2 separate regions of the Homo sapiens genome follow, and region 2 is linked to region 1. The links are contacts of gene promoters, found by promoter capture Hi-C in blood cells and fetal thymus (Javierre and others, 2016). All regions are on one chromosome and are shown on one strand. The core of a region is centred on a gene start or on the middle of the fragment in contact, and the rest is flanking DNA. Distances in the headings are between cores, read along the strand shown.

What was found. The method cuts DNA at HindIII sites, captures the fragments that hold promoters and counts their contacts. A CHiCAGO score of 5 or more calls a contact.
Region 2: a contact is called between a fragment that was not itself captured here and the fragment with the promoter of ZSCAN20 in region 1, in 1 of 17 cell types (endothelial precursors). The highest score is 5.8, in endothelial precursors.

The regions. Positions count from the first base shown.
Region 1 is chr1:33,469,391-33,476,085 of GRCh38, forward strand. ZSCAN20 (zinc finger and SCAN domain containing 20) reads left to right here and starts at 3,255. Exons shown (of 8, transcript NM_001377376.1): 1 at 3,255-3,301. RefSeq lists a silencer at 1,218-1,512. The HindIII fragment of the contact is 14,362 bases long and covers 1-3,408 here.
Region 2 is chr1:33,112,129-33,118,823 of GRCh38, forward strand. It overlaps AZIN2 (antizyme inhibitor 2), which reads left to right. Exons shown (of 12, transcript NM_052998.4): 11 at 5,774-5,988. Among named protein-coding and RNA genes, the nearest start is that of AZIN2, 34 kb to the left of the region's middle. The HindIII fragment of the contact is 1,762 bases long and covers 1,473-3,234 here.

The DNA.
Region 1 (6,695 bases), core at 2,005-4,504:
AGGGCAAAGAGAGAAGCCTTTGGCCAGTCCTAAGCTGTGGAATGGGGTCCAGGTCAAGTTCAACCAGATCTTCAAGGGGCCAAGGGACCCCTTTTGCCATCTGGGTTATAGAGGGATTGGCAGCTAAGGATCAAAAAGCTGGGATGCTGCCCAGGAGACAGCAGACTGATTGCCTGTTCCCTCAATAAAAAACATGAAGGCCTGTTCCCATCTATCTCCAGTTAAGCCTCATAGCAACACTGGGAGGAGAAGCCTACCCCCTTGTCACTCTGTACTCTGACTATGCTAGACTACCTGTGGGTCCCAGGACATCATCACACCTTTTGTCTCTGGGCCATTGCATATGCTGTTCTTGCACTGAAAAATACCTTTTCCCTGGGGAACTCTTAAGTATTATTTAAGATGCAGTTCAGCCATCACTTTCTTCAGAAGCCTTTCCTGATCTCCCAGCCTAGATAACTGTTGCCCCTGGGCTCCCACAATTTCCTGCACCTCCCTTTCTCAAAGGACTGATCACAGGCCTGAAAGCCACAGAAATAGTGGTCTCCAAAGCTGAGTGCACAAGATTATCACACTATGGTTGCAAAGAAACTGTTATAACTTCTATTTCTATTTTTTAAAAATCTTACCTTATTCTGAAGCTAGACTGCCTGCTTTTTTAGCCACGTGCCGTTAGCATGTTATTTAACCTCTCTATACCATAGTTTCCTTTTCTGTAATATGGGATAGTGTTAGACTCTCCCTCAAAGGGTTTTGGATGTATTAAATGAGTTAATACATATAAAGCACTGAGAGAAGGACCTAATAATGCATTGCAAATGTTCAAGGAAAGTTAGCTATTACAGGCACATCATTTATAAGTAAATAAATACACATATGTTGGGAGTGTGTGCTCAACTCAAAAACTCAAAAAGGCTTCACTTATGGGAGCGCTCTATTGGGAAAGTTTAGAGATCAGGCCCTGGGGTCAGAGACCAGGTTTGCTTCATCTCTGCATCCTTAGAGCCTAGTGTCTGCCCAAATCAGAGAGAGTCCTGGTAGACAAATGCAGACAGAACGCTTGCAAACCAAATCCTGATGGGTGCTGAACCAGAGAGAACCTGGAACAGGTTCAGGCTCTGTTGCTTATTTCTACACGGCACTAAAGGGCAGTTGGCCTCTTGAGGACTTCGTTAGTTTTTTCTCTTCTGTAGAATGCCAGGCTTTAATTAGACAAAGGCTAAGGGAAACCATAGAATAATTCGAGGCTGTATTGAGGGCGAGGCGCGCCCTCTTGTGTCCTAATGATGTCCTCTCCTCTCTCTGCACACTCGCCTCCCTTCTTCCTCTTAGGGCAGATGATGCTGAAGTGGACACGTCCTTACCTGACCCTGCAAAGCTGCCTCTCCAGCTTCAGATCCTGACACTCTCTCAAATGTTTCCGGCTCCCTTGGCACCCCACACTGTTGCACTGTCCCTCCCCATCTCAAACCCTCCTACTTCCACATATGGTCTCTTCCTCATGCAGTGTAGGACCTTTGGAGTCACATGCCTAGGGGGTGACAAATCGCAGCCCTGGTTCTTATTGGCTCTGTGATCTTGAGTAGGTCACTTCGTTTCTCTAAGTCTCATTCCCTCTTTGTAAAGTGGAGCAAACAATACCAATCTCATAGGGCTACTGTGAGACTTCAACACCAAGGAGTATTTACGGGTTGTTATTATGTTTACTGAGTAAAATCACATGAGTTATTACTACAAATAAGTTGGAACATGTTTCACAGAGAAGGAATTTAAACTGGGTCGTTAAAGCTAAGAATTCTCCTATTTTAACACTAGCCAACATGCATTGAGCTCTTACCAGATGCTAGGTATTGTCAATTTTCCCTAAGCCGCATAACCATTGGTAATAATAATAATAGCTAATGATTATGTATATTATTGTATTTTCTATTTTTTAAAATAGAGACGAGGTCTCACTTCGCTGCCCAGGCTGGTCTCAAACTCCTGGACTAAAGCGATCCTTCCGTCTCAGCCTCCCAGAGGGCTGGGATTACAGGCATGAGCCTCCGTGCCTGGACTAGCTAATGATTATTAAACACTTTCTGTGTGTCAGACATGTGTCACGCTCTTTACATACCTTCTCCCATTTATTCCTCTCAACAACTGTCTCAGGAAGAGGCAAGTATTATCATTCCCATTTTACAGCTGGGAAAATGCAGGCATAAAGAAGCTAAGTAATTTGCCCAAGGTTTCACAACGCGGGTGGTATGACCTGCATCCTTCATTTGAAAGTAAGAACTTTCAGACACAAGCAGCTTGACTTCAGAGACTTTTACCTAAATAGTCTCATTTAACCTTCATAACACCCTGTGATGTAAGTTCTCTTACATTACTTGCATTTTATAGATGAAAATTCCAAAGACAAAATAGATGGCAGTAATTTGTTCAAGGCCACACAGCTGCGAAGTAGTTGAGTTGGGATTTGGATCCATGTCTGACTACAAAGCCCCCATTCTCAACACCACATTAGATTGTTCATGCCCCAAAGTATTCACAGTGGTACAGAGCACCCGCATTTATATGAGGATTATTTTGTAATAATGATTAACATTCTTCCAACACCTAGGAAGTGCCAAGCTCTGTACTAACTGATTTACATAATAATAGCTAACAATCGCTGTGCATTATTAGGAGCCAGGCCCTGAGCTAATCGTTTTAGGTGTATTATCTCATTGAAAGTTCACAAAACTCTGTGACATGGATGCCATTACTACCCTCATTTTATGGTTGAAGAGAACGAGGTTCAGAATTCTTCCAAAGTCACACAGCTTAGCTGTAAGCTGGAAATTAAAGCTACAACTGTCCAGTTCTCTCCTGCCTATCGGGCTGGTCACCTCTAGTCATTCTCTCTTCTTATTTCTTATTGTGTCTGCTTTGATCTTTCAGGGTCTGAGGCTCTCACTTCGACCCCTCAGTAGAACTGGGCCCCCTTCTGCTCGAGTGCCCTCCCATTGGGCGGTGCTGTTATCCGGAAGCCTATGGAAAAGGCCAGGATCGCAACAGGTCCCGCCCCCATGTGTCGCGCCCGTTCCGATTTGTTCCAGTGCCAGGGTCCGTTAGAAGATGACATATCTATTGGCTGAAGACGTCTGAAAGGCAGCAAACGGAGGGGGCCGCCCCCGGCGCTCGCGCGGTTCCTTCTGGGAATTGTGGTCTCAGACGTTCCATTCCCAGGGTGGCGCCGCTCGGACTCCGCGTCCCAGCATTCCCCGCACGAGCCCGGGAGCACTTCCGCCCTGTTGTGAAGTGGGTGTCTCGGTGGGTGAGTCCGGGTGGCGGGGCGGGGGCAGCTGAGACGCAGGCTCTGGGCTGGAGACTTAGGAGGTGGTGGTGACACAGGGGGCTGGGGAAGGTGAGAGGGGAGAAAGAAGCTTATATGTGGGGGTGGAGGGTGAGGGACGGTCAAAGGATGTAGAGGCCGGAGATGGGAAGGGTCATACAGGGGTCGGGGATGAGGAGGCGATAGAGGGCCCTGGGAATGAGGAGGGCCTTAGAAGGGTCTGAAGGTGAGGGGGTTGAGGGAGGTTTTGGAGGTGGGAGAGTCATAGAAAGGTCTGGAGACCACAGAGGAAAGGATAGAGGGTCTGGGGCCCTGGCAAGAAGTGAAGAGGGCCTGAGCTTGAAGCCCGACCTTAAAAATAGTGTTTCAATCTCTACCTTCCCATCTAGAACAAGCATATCTAATTTGTTACCTCCCTAATGATTGTTACCTCTGGAACCCAGTGGATGGGACTGGCTATTGTGTTCTGCCCCAAACCTGCACTTCTTTCCTTATGTCTTATGGAAGTCAGTGGCACGATCATCCCATTTACCTACCTACCTACCTACTTACCCACTGATTCCTCTTGCATTCTTCCACGTCCAAGGATCTTCCGATCTTTAATTTCTTTAATATCTTTTCAGTCGGCCTCTTTCTTGTAGGGTTTTCGCAGAAGCCTTTTCAGTTTCCCAGCATGAACACACACATTGCACCTAGTGTGATCTGTTTCACCTACAAATCTGATTATGCCTTCTGCTTGAAAACTTTCATTGGCACCCAGCACCTGTAAAGTCCAAACACCTTGTCCTTCATAAACTCCTTTTGCAGCCTAATCTTCATGCACCTCACACTCCAGGGCTGTCAAGGTTTTCCTCGTTTCCTGGGTAGGCCATTTGGTTTTCCATCATTATATATGCTGTTCTCTCAGCTTAGAATATTCTCTCCTTGCCCTTCACCTTCTTTGCCAAGAGAACTTCTTTAACTTAAAAAAATTTCAACTCTTACTTTGCTCAATTCCCTTAAGCAAATTAAGTCACCCCCAACCCTCAGCTCCCATAACTTCTCCTATTACCACATTTGATCATAATTATCTGTGAAGTGTGTGTCTCTTCCATTAGACTGTGAACATCTCCAGGACAGGAACAGTGTCTCAATCACCTCTGTTTCCCCATTGCCCAGTCTAGAGCAGTAAACACTTGATGTAAAGCAGTAAATACTTGATGTATGTATGTGTGAATGAAGACCATGCAGGGTAAGCTTTGCTATACCAGCCTTGAAGACTTCTATTGCCAGTGGATTTCCAGGGCAGGAGCTTTAGTCTTCCTCTGCCTGGCAAGGCTATCTGCTGGAAGCTGAAGCTGATTCATTGCCAATGGGAGTTTAAGCCAGGGGTGACAAATACATGGAATGTGTGCTGCCAGTGCCCCTTCCTGTGTCCCTGGCAGTCATGGCTAATTGGTTGGTTCTCAGCACATATTCACACTGTACTCAGAGCCCTCAGCACACTACTCTAGGCAGCCACTTCCAGTTGATTGAAGTTTCTGCTTTAAATGAAACCTATTTGCTCTCCCTGGCTTAAGCCCTTATGTGTGAGGTCAGGTCAGACTGCTTTAAGCCATAGCTTGGACTGTCAGCCAAATGGGCCTGACAGCCTTTAAGAGTTCCCAGTTTTTTCTCTTTGGAGGTCACAGACCAGTCTTGGCCTTTCCTGTGGAACTGGAGAGCATCTTCTCTTCCCTTTTCACTGAGTGGGCTCCTCATGACCACGTTCATACTTACTGCCCTAGGAGTCAAGATGCCCCTCAGCTTCCCTGTGTTTGTAAAGACATCTTGATTTTGATGGCAGTCAGCACTTATCCCTCATGACCTGGGAGGCTCTGTACTCTTTCTAGGTCTTTCTGGATATTGGAAGAGAGCTTTGAGATCACTTAGCTGAATCTAAGTGGCAAAGCGACAGCCCATGCTGAATGAAGTCCACCATCATGCTTTATTTAATCTCATAGTGTGTGAAAAAATTTTGAGTTGGTTACCAACATTTAAAAATCCAGAGTGCTAGTTTCTTTTGGAAAAATCAGCAGGCTTAGGAATATTCTGGGCATATGTTCCCCTGGCACTCTATAGTTGGCTGTAGTGCCCACCCAGTTCATTTCAGTCATTGACTCATTTACATTGCTAGGTCCTTATACCCATTTAAACTTGTAGCCACTGACTCTAGTCTCCCTTCTCCCTTGCTCTACCCCATCATACTAATTGGGGAACCTAGGGCAACTGCTGAGTAAGATCAGGCTGTAAGCTGCAGCCTAGCTAGGCAGCCACAGGGGCTACATAACTTGTCCAAAGTAACACAGCTGATTAGTGGCAGGAGTGGAACTAGAACCCCAGTCTGCTCACTCCTGCCTTAATGTTCTTTCCATTCTCCCGTACTGTCATCTTAAGAGTTTGGATGACTAGCACACATAGAGGAGGCTATAAGACATGGTTAAGAAAAATGATTGGAGAAAAGGGATCTCGGCTTAGACCCTAACTCTACCACTTGCTAGTTGTGTAACCTTAAGTGAATCTTCATAAACACTCAGTTTCCCTTTAGGTAATTGAGGATATAGTGCAGTCATACCTTATCAGATAATAATATTCTAAGGGTGAAAATCACTTTAGCCAAAAATCACAGTTAGTTTGAAAATCCTTTGGCAAGGAGCCGTTTCAGAAACTAACACGCTGCCTTTCAATAAATAAACTAATCAGCACAGCTGGGCTTTCTTGTTTGAACATTAGATGAGAATTCGCTTGTATTAGGGACTGTGCGGTATGAAAGACACTTTACTCACACTTAGTGGAAAGAGAGGCACGAGGGAATCAAGACCAACCTGGTGAATAGCGAAGTCCTAGGTGCCACCACCACATGCTTATTCTCGAACAGATAGTGAACGCAACTGGCTGCACTATTTAAATCATGCTCTTTCTCTCTTTCTTTTTTTTTTCTTCTTTTTCTGAGACAGAGTCGTGCTCTGTTGCCCAGGCTGGAGTGCAGTGGCACGATCTCAGCTCACTGCAACCTCCGCCTCCTGGGTTTAAGCAATTCTCCTGCCTCAGCCTCCCGAGTAGCTGGGATTACAGGTACGAGCCACCACGCTTGGCTATTTTTTTTTTTTTTTTGTATTTTTAGTAGAGACAGGGTTTCACCATGTTGGCCAGGCTGGTCTCGAACTCCTGACCTTGTGATCTCCCTGCCTCGGCCTCCCAAAGTGCTGGGATTACAGGCGTGAGCCACCGCGCCCGGCCCTCTTTCTCTCTTTCTGATCTTTGCAGTGGAAGTTACAGATCAGTGAAATGCAGCTCAACACCTAATGAGACTCCAGTTGCTGCCTGGAGGCTTCAGTGAGATTATGAATGTGGAACA
Region 2 (6,695 bases), core at 1,104-3,603, 360 kb before region 1:
TTGGTGAGGATATGGTGTAGTTGGGTCCTTAGGCACTGCTAGGTGGCAGTGGTGTATCACTACTTTGGGAAACAAGTAGGCATTATTCAGATAAATTTGCACATATGTATGTCCTACATTACAGCAAGTTCCTAGGCCTATATTGTAAAGAAACTCTTGGCATGTGTGTTCGAGGAGATATATCAGAACATATATATCTTTATAATATAAAACATTGGAAATGACCTTAATGTTTATTGGCAGGGTAGCAGAAACATAAATTATGGTGTATTCTGTACAGTGAATTCTATACAGTGTATTGTGAACTTGTAGAGATTACATACTCTATAATTTATATAAATCTCAAAAGTGTGCAAAACTAAACAATACATTGTTTAGGGTTAGGTACACTCATGGAAAACAAAGTAAGAAAATGATGAACATGAAAGTGAGGATGGTGGTTACCTCTAAAGAGGTTAGGAAAGAGGAGATGTCATTGGAGTGGGCACATAGGGAGTTTCAAAGATACTGGAAATTTTATCTTTCTTCAGTTGGGTGGTAAGTACACAGATATTCATTTTATTGTCATTCGTTATATCTTAGACATGATACAAATATTCTTTTGTATAAATTATTTAACAAAAACTGAGTTTGTCATTTGCTTTATTATTATTCTTTGATAGGCTCACATTTATTCTTTTATCACATTATTTCTAATGTTTAGAAAAACATCCTGGGGATTTTAATTAGTAATAGTTTATTTAATCTAGTTATTAAATTAGGGAGAATTCTCTTTTTTGCTTTACTAAGTTTTTCTAGCTAGGACAGTGTAAACTTCATATCTTTTATTTCTTCCATGAAGGTTTTATTTATTTATTTTTTTTGAGACGGCGTCTCGCTCTGTTGCCCAGGCTGGAGTGCAGTGGTGCAATATCAGCTCACTGCAACCTCCACCTCCCAGGCTCAAGCGATTCTCTTGGGAGGCCTCAGCCTCCCAAATACCTGGGACTACAGGCGCCCGCCACCATGCCTGGAGAGATGGGGTAGAGATGGGGTTTCACCGTGTTAACCAGGATGGTCTCGACCTCCTGACCTCATGATCTGCCTACCTCTGCCTCCCAAAGTGTTGGGATTCCAGGCGTGAGCCACCGCGCCCAGCTGGTTTTATTATTTTTTTATTGTTTTATTTGAATAAGTATTACTGTGGCCCAAGTACATCCAAGAATGTAATAGCTTAATGCTTTCACTACTATTGTGAGTGAAAACTTTTCCCTGTGTTTTTGAGCTGAGATGCTGGCTTGCATTCTAAAATTCATTGATTTCCTCTAGTAACCACACCCACCCCCTTAAGATTTTCCAGGTGGGCAAATACGTTATCTGCAGTGTAATATTTTATTTCTTCATCTTCTATGTATTATGCTTTTTTGTTTCTTTTTTTCTGATAGCTATTGCTAGCATTTCTCATCATATATAAAATGGGAATGATGACAGAAAGCTTCAGACTTGGAATCAGAAGACATGGGTTTGAGACCTGGCTCTGCCATAGACCAGCTGAGTAACCTTAGGCAAAGCAAGCTACTTAATCTCTCTGAGCCTTGTTTCTCTAGTTTCTCCATTTGGAAAATGACAGGGCTGAACTTCAGTGTATCTCAATGAAGTCAGAGTTGGATCATTATTTAAAATAGTCTCTCTTCATTGTGGGGTTTTGTTTTGTCTGTAGTTTTAATAAAGAATAGATGCTACGGGCTACTTCATGGTATGTTGACATGTATTGGGAAAATTAAACTTGAACTGTAGATCTATATTTTCCATGTTATGAAGCCAGTGATTGACTTCTCTCCTGTTGTCTGCACCTTTCATTTTAGAGATAATATGACTGTGAATTTGGTTAGCTAAGATTTCATGTCAGGTTTTTGCCTATATATTCACAAGTGAGATTTTGGCCATAGGGTTTTTTTTTCTTTTTATCTCATTTTTGTCTTTTAAAATATTTTTGTACGAATTATTGATTTATTCTTTTCTTTTTTTTTTTGAGATGGAGTCCTGCTCTGTCACCCAGGCTGGAGTGCAGTGGTGCGATCTCAGCTCACTGAAACCTCCGTCCGGGTTCAAATGATTCGCCTGTGTCAGCCTCCTGAGTAGCTGAGATTACAGGCGCCTGCCACCATGCCTGGCTAATTTTTTTGTATTTTTAGTAGAGACAGGGCTTTACCATGTTGGCCAGACTGGATGATTTTTTTTTCTTTTCTTTTTTTTTTTTTTTTGAGATGGAGTCCCGCTCTGTCGCCCAGGCTGGAGTGCAGTGGCGCAATCTCGGCTCACTGCAAGCTCCACCTTCCGGGTTCACGCCATTCTCCTGCCTCAGCCTCCCAAGTAGCTGGGACTACAGGCGCCCGCCACCATGCCCGGCTAATTTTTTGTATTTTTAGTAGAGACGGGGTTTCACCGTGTTAGCCAGGATGGTCTCGATTTCCTGACCTCGTGATCCACCCACCTCAGCCTCCCAAAGTGCTGAGATTACAGGCATGAGCCACCGCGACCCGCCTTTTTTTTTTTTTTTTTTTTTGAGATGGAGTTTTGCTCTTGTCACCCAGGCTGGAGTGCAATGGCTGGATCTTGGCTCACTGCAACCTCTGCCTCCTAGGTTCAAGCGATTCTTCTGCCTCAGCCTCCTGAGTAGCTGGGATTACACGCCCAGCTAATTTTTGTATTTTTAGTAGCGACAGGGTTTTGCCATGTTGGCCAGGCTGGCCTCAAACTCCTGACCTCAAGTGATGCGCCCGTGTCCGCCTCCTAAAGTGCTGGGATTACAGGCGTGAGCCACCGCGCCCAGCCTATTGATTTATTCTTTAAAAGTTGAAGAATTATTTAGGGATTCCATCAAGGCCGTGCACCTTTTTCAATGTTTGACCTTGTTTTTTCTGTGGCTCTGTCAGACATATGTGCCTTTGAAGAAGGCAGCTAGGTGCAGCCAGGAGGCTCCTTGTCTGGGACTGCCCAGAGTTCTACTAACTCCCCCTAGAGCCTTGGGCAGGTCACCTTCCCTCTCTGAGTTTTCTCATCTGTAAAATGGGAATGCAATCATGCCACCTGCCTCCCAGATAAGGTATGAAGTGGTGGTGGTATGCTTTGTAAATGAGGAACCCCCTGCCCTCTCTCACAGAGGGGCCTAGTGGCTGGCAGACTGGGCATCTTGGATTTTTGCAGATGCTTGTCCATTTCCACTCAGACTTGTAAAAATAGCTGAGATTTACAAGCTTGTTGCCACAGCTTTTAGAATATTTATTTCACAGATTCCTTAAAAAAAAAAAAATAGGCTGGGTGCAGTGGCTCACACCTGCAATCTCAGTACTTTGGAAGGCCGAGGTGGCGGATCACCTGAGGTCAGGAGTTTGAGACCAGCCTGGCCAACATGGCAAAATCCTGTATCTACTAAAACTACAAAAATTAGCCAGGTGTGGTGGCCGGCACCTGTAATCTCAGCTACTCGGGAGGCTGAGACAGGAGAATCGCTGAACCCAGGAGGCAGAGGTTGCAGTGGGCTGAGATCACACCACTACACTCCAGCCTCGATGACAGAGTGAGACTCTGTCTCAAAAAAAAGTTAAATAGATACATAAATAGTAAAAGCGTAGCTTTGCATTATGTCATGTGAAGATTTAAAATCTTTTTTCACCTAATTTTTTAAAATTTACACCACTAATAACAAGTGAGGGAATGCTAACTTCTTATAATCCAAGGGTGCCTTTTCTCTTTACCATGGAAGAATCTTTAAAATTTATTTTCCCAAAGATCCTTGTAGATTCATTTATAGAGCATCCCCTCCACTCATCTTTAAACATTAGCTTAATGTTTTTCAATGAGTGGGGCTAAGGGAAATAATTCAGACCACTTGAGGTTAATTTTATTCATCAACAAAAAGTTTATAAACAAGAATGTTCAGTTATATGAACAAGGATATACAGTATTCCTTTGTCTCCCCTTCTTAGAATGGGAGCTTCATGACCACAGGAATTTTATTTTGTGTGTGTGTTTACTGCTGCATCTCCAGCTCCTAGATCACAGCCTGGCAATTAGTAGGTGCTCAATAAGTACTTGTTGAATGAATGAATTCCTGAAGATTGGATAGCTATCATTCTTAACTTACATAATGTACATATTTTTCTTTATTAATGGGACTAATAGCTTATTAACTTTTTATCAAATATATGAGCACTATTTCTGCTTATGGAAACTGCGACTTTTCTTTCTCAATTTTACTCATTCCTGCTCTGGCTAAGGTATTGAAACGCCTTTCCTTTTTTCTCTGCTGGTCTTCTCTGTTGCTTCCATCTATGCCCTTTGGATGGCTTCCATTCATATCCTTTTTCTCCCCTTTGTCATTCTTTCTCTTTCTCATCACTCATATATTCCCCATTCTTTAATTCATTTATTTAAAAATATTATTTGAATAAGCACCTAATGGATGCCAGCCTGCTAGGCATTGAGGAGATGGGGATGACAAGACCTACACATCCCCTGGGCTCATGGAATTTATAGTCTTCAGGGAAGACAGGCCTGAGCAGATATTTCACAAATATTTATGAATTATGGTAAATACTACGAAAGCAAAGCTTGAGGGAGCATGGAGCTTTAGGAAAGGCTTCCCTGAAGCCATTTTAGCTGAGATCTAAAGGAGAAATAGGAATTTGCAAATTTGGGGCCTCAGGGAATAGCATGGGGGAAAGTAGGAGGTATGGGAAGGGAAGTAGGGTTTACCTGGGGAGCCCAGAGCAACTGGAGTAACTGGAGCACAGCAAGTGCAGTGATGGGAGAAGAGGCCTCTCAGAGGGCACAGTCATCATCATCCACATTTCAGTGGTGACTCTAGGATCTGCCTGGCAAGATCCCTGCCTACACTGTGGCAAATGGCACTGATAACTTGGTTGTCCAGAGTCTGTTACAAATTTCTGGATTTGGAAATCATTTAAGAAAAAATCTTAAATTTTATGTCATTGGTAGTTGTGTCTTTGGGCAAGTCATTTAAGCTGTCAGAGCCTCCATTTTTCTGAAATGGGAGTAATTGTGTCTACTCTGTGGGGTCCTCTGTGACCTCTGCCAGGTCCCCCTGTGATTGTTGTTGGAAGTCCATCTTTCTCATTAGACTGAGGGCCTGAGGGAGGGTGAGTCTAGCCTGGTATACTGCTGGCTCCTGTTGTGGGGCCTGGCATGGAGTGAGGACATCTGGGAGGGCTTCATAGACGAGGGAGCCCCAGGGCTGGGCTCAGAAGACAGGCTAGATTTGAGGGTCGGGGAAGGGCTGTAGAGGTGTGGACATATCGACGTCTGGAAAGAGGCCAGTGAAGACCAAAGTGCAGAGGTGGTAACAACAGCAATCACAACAATAAGTTACAATTGTGCTGACTTTCTGTGCACCCTCGCCGTGTGCCGCCACTGTTCTACATGCTCTCCATACACTAACTCATTTATCCTTGCAGTAACCTTACGAGGTAGGTACTGTTGTTATCCCCATTTTACAAATGAGCAAACTGAGACATGGAGAGATTAAGCATTTTGCCCAAGGTCACACAGCTAACAACTGCTGGAACCTGGATTTAAGGCCAGGCATTCGTGACTTCAGAGTGTAAGAGGCAACGAATGCAGAGAAGTGGGAAGGGCCTTAAATGCTAAGCTAGGAGGCCCATCTAGACTTTATCCTGTTGGCTATGGGAGCCATAGAAGGCTTTTGAGGGAGGGAGTGGCAAGGCTGTTGTATGCCCAGGAGAGCTGGCATGGCCATCCCTTCTTCCTACAGAAACCATCCACGGAGCAGCCCCTGTACAGCAGCAGCCTGTGGGGCCCGGCGGTTGATGGCTGTGATTGCGTGGCTGAGGGCCTGTGGCTGCCGCAACTACACGTAGGGGACTGGCTGGTCTTTGACAACATGGGCGCCTACACTGTGGGCATGGGTTCCCCCTTTTGGGGGACCCAGGCCTGCCACATCACCTATGCCATGTCCCGGGTGGCCTGGTAAGAGGGCCCTGCTGGAAAATGGGGGTATGGGGAGGAACTGGGCAGAAACGAGGGAAACTTGAGATTTGAGATTCTGCTTCTGTGTAATCCAACTTGACAAGTAGCTGTTGGCTGCTGGTCCCACGTGAGGGATGTGCTTGGCACCTGGCTGTGGCCATAAGTGAGGCTGGGCTTTCCTAGAGGAGCTCACAGCCCTGAGGGAGGCACAGAGAAGCAGACAGGCCCTTGTGATAATACTGTGCCTGGTGGAAGTGCAGAGCCCTCCCTGAGGCCCAGGCCTCCCTGAGGAAGTGGGAGTCAACTACAGGAGTGGGTGGTAGGACTTCCCAGAAGAAAGGAACGGAGAGCAAGTGTGGTGCATTCAAGGCTCGCATGGAGAGTGGCTGTGACTGCAGAGGGAGGCAGGGCTAGATCTGGGAAGGGCTTGAAGGCCGAGTGACACGCTTTGACAGCAGTGGGAGGCATGGACCAGTTTGAAGCAGGGGCATAACACAGTCTGATTTGCACTTTGGAAAGACCACCCTAGTTCCTGTATAGACTGAGGACAAGGGCAGATGCAGAAAGAGATGACCAGTTAGGTGGCTGCTGTGTGACACAGGAGAGACTTGGTCTGCCTGCTTGCTGAGCCTTGGTCTTTCCATCTAGAAAATAAGCGTAACAGTAGCCCTGCCTGCCCCACCAGGCTAGTGCTGGGATCCAGTGAG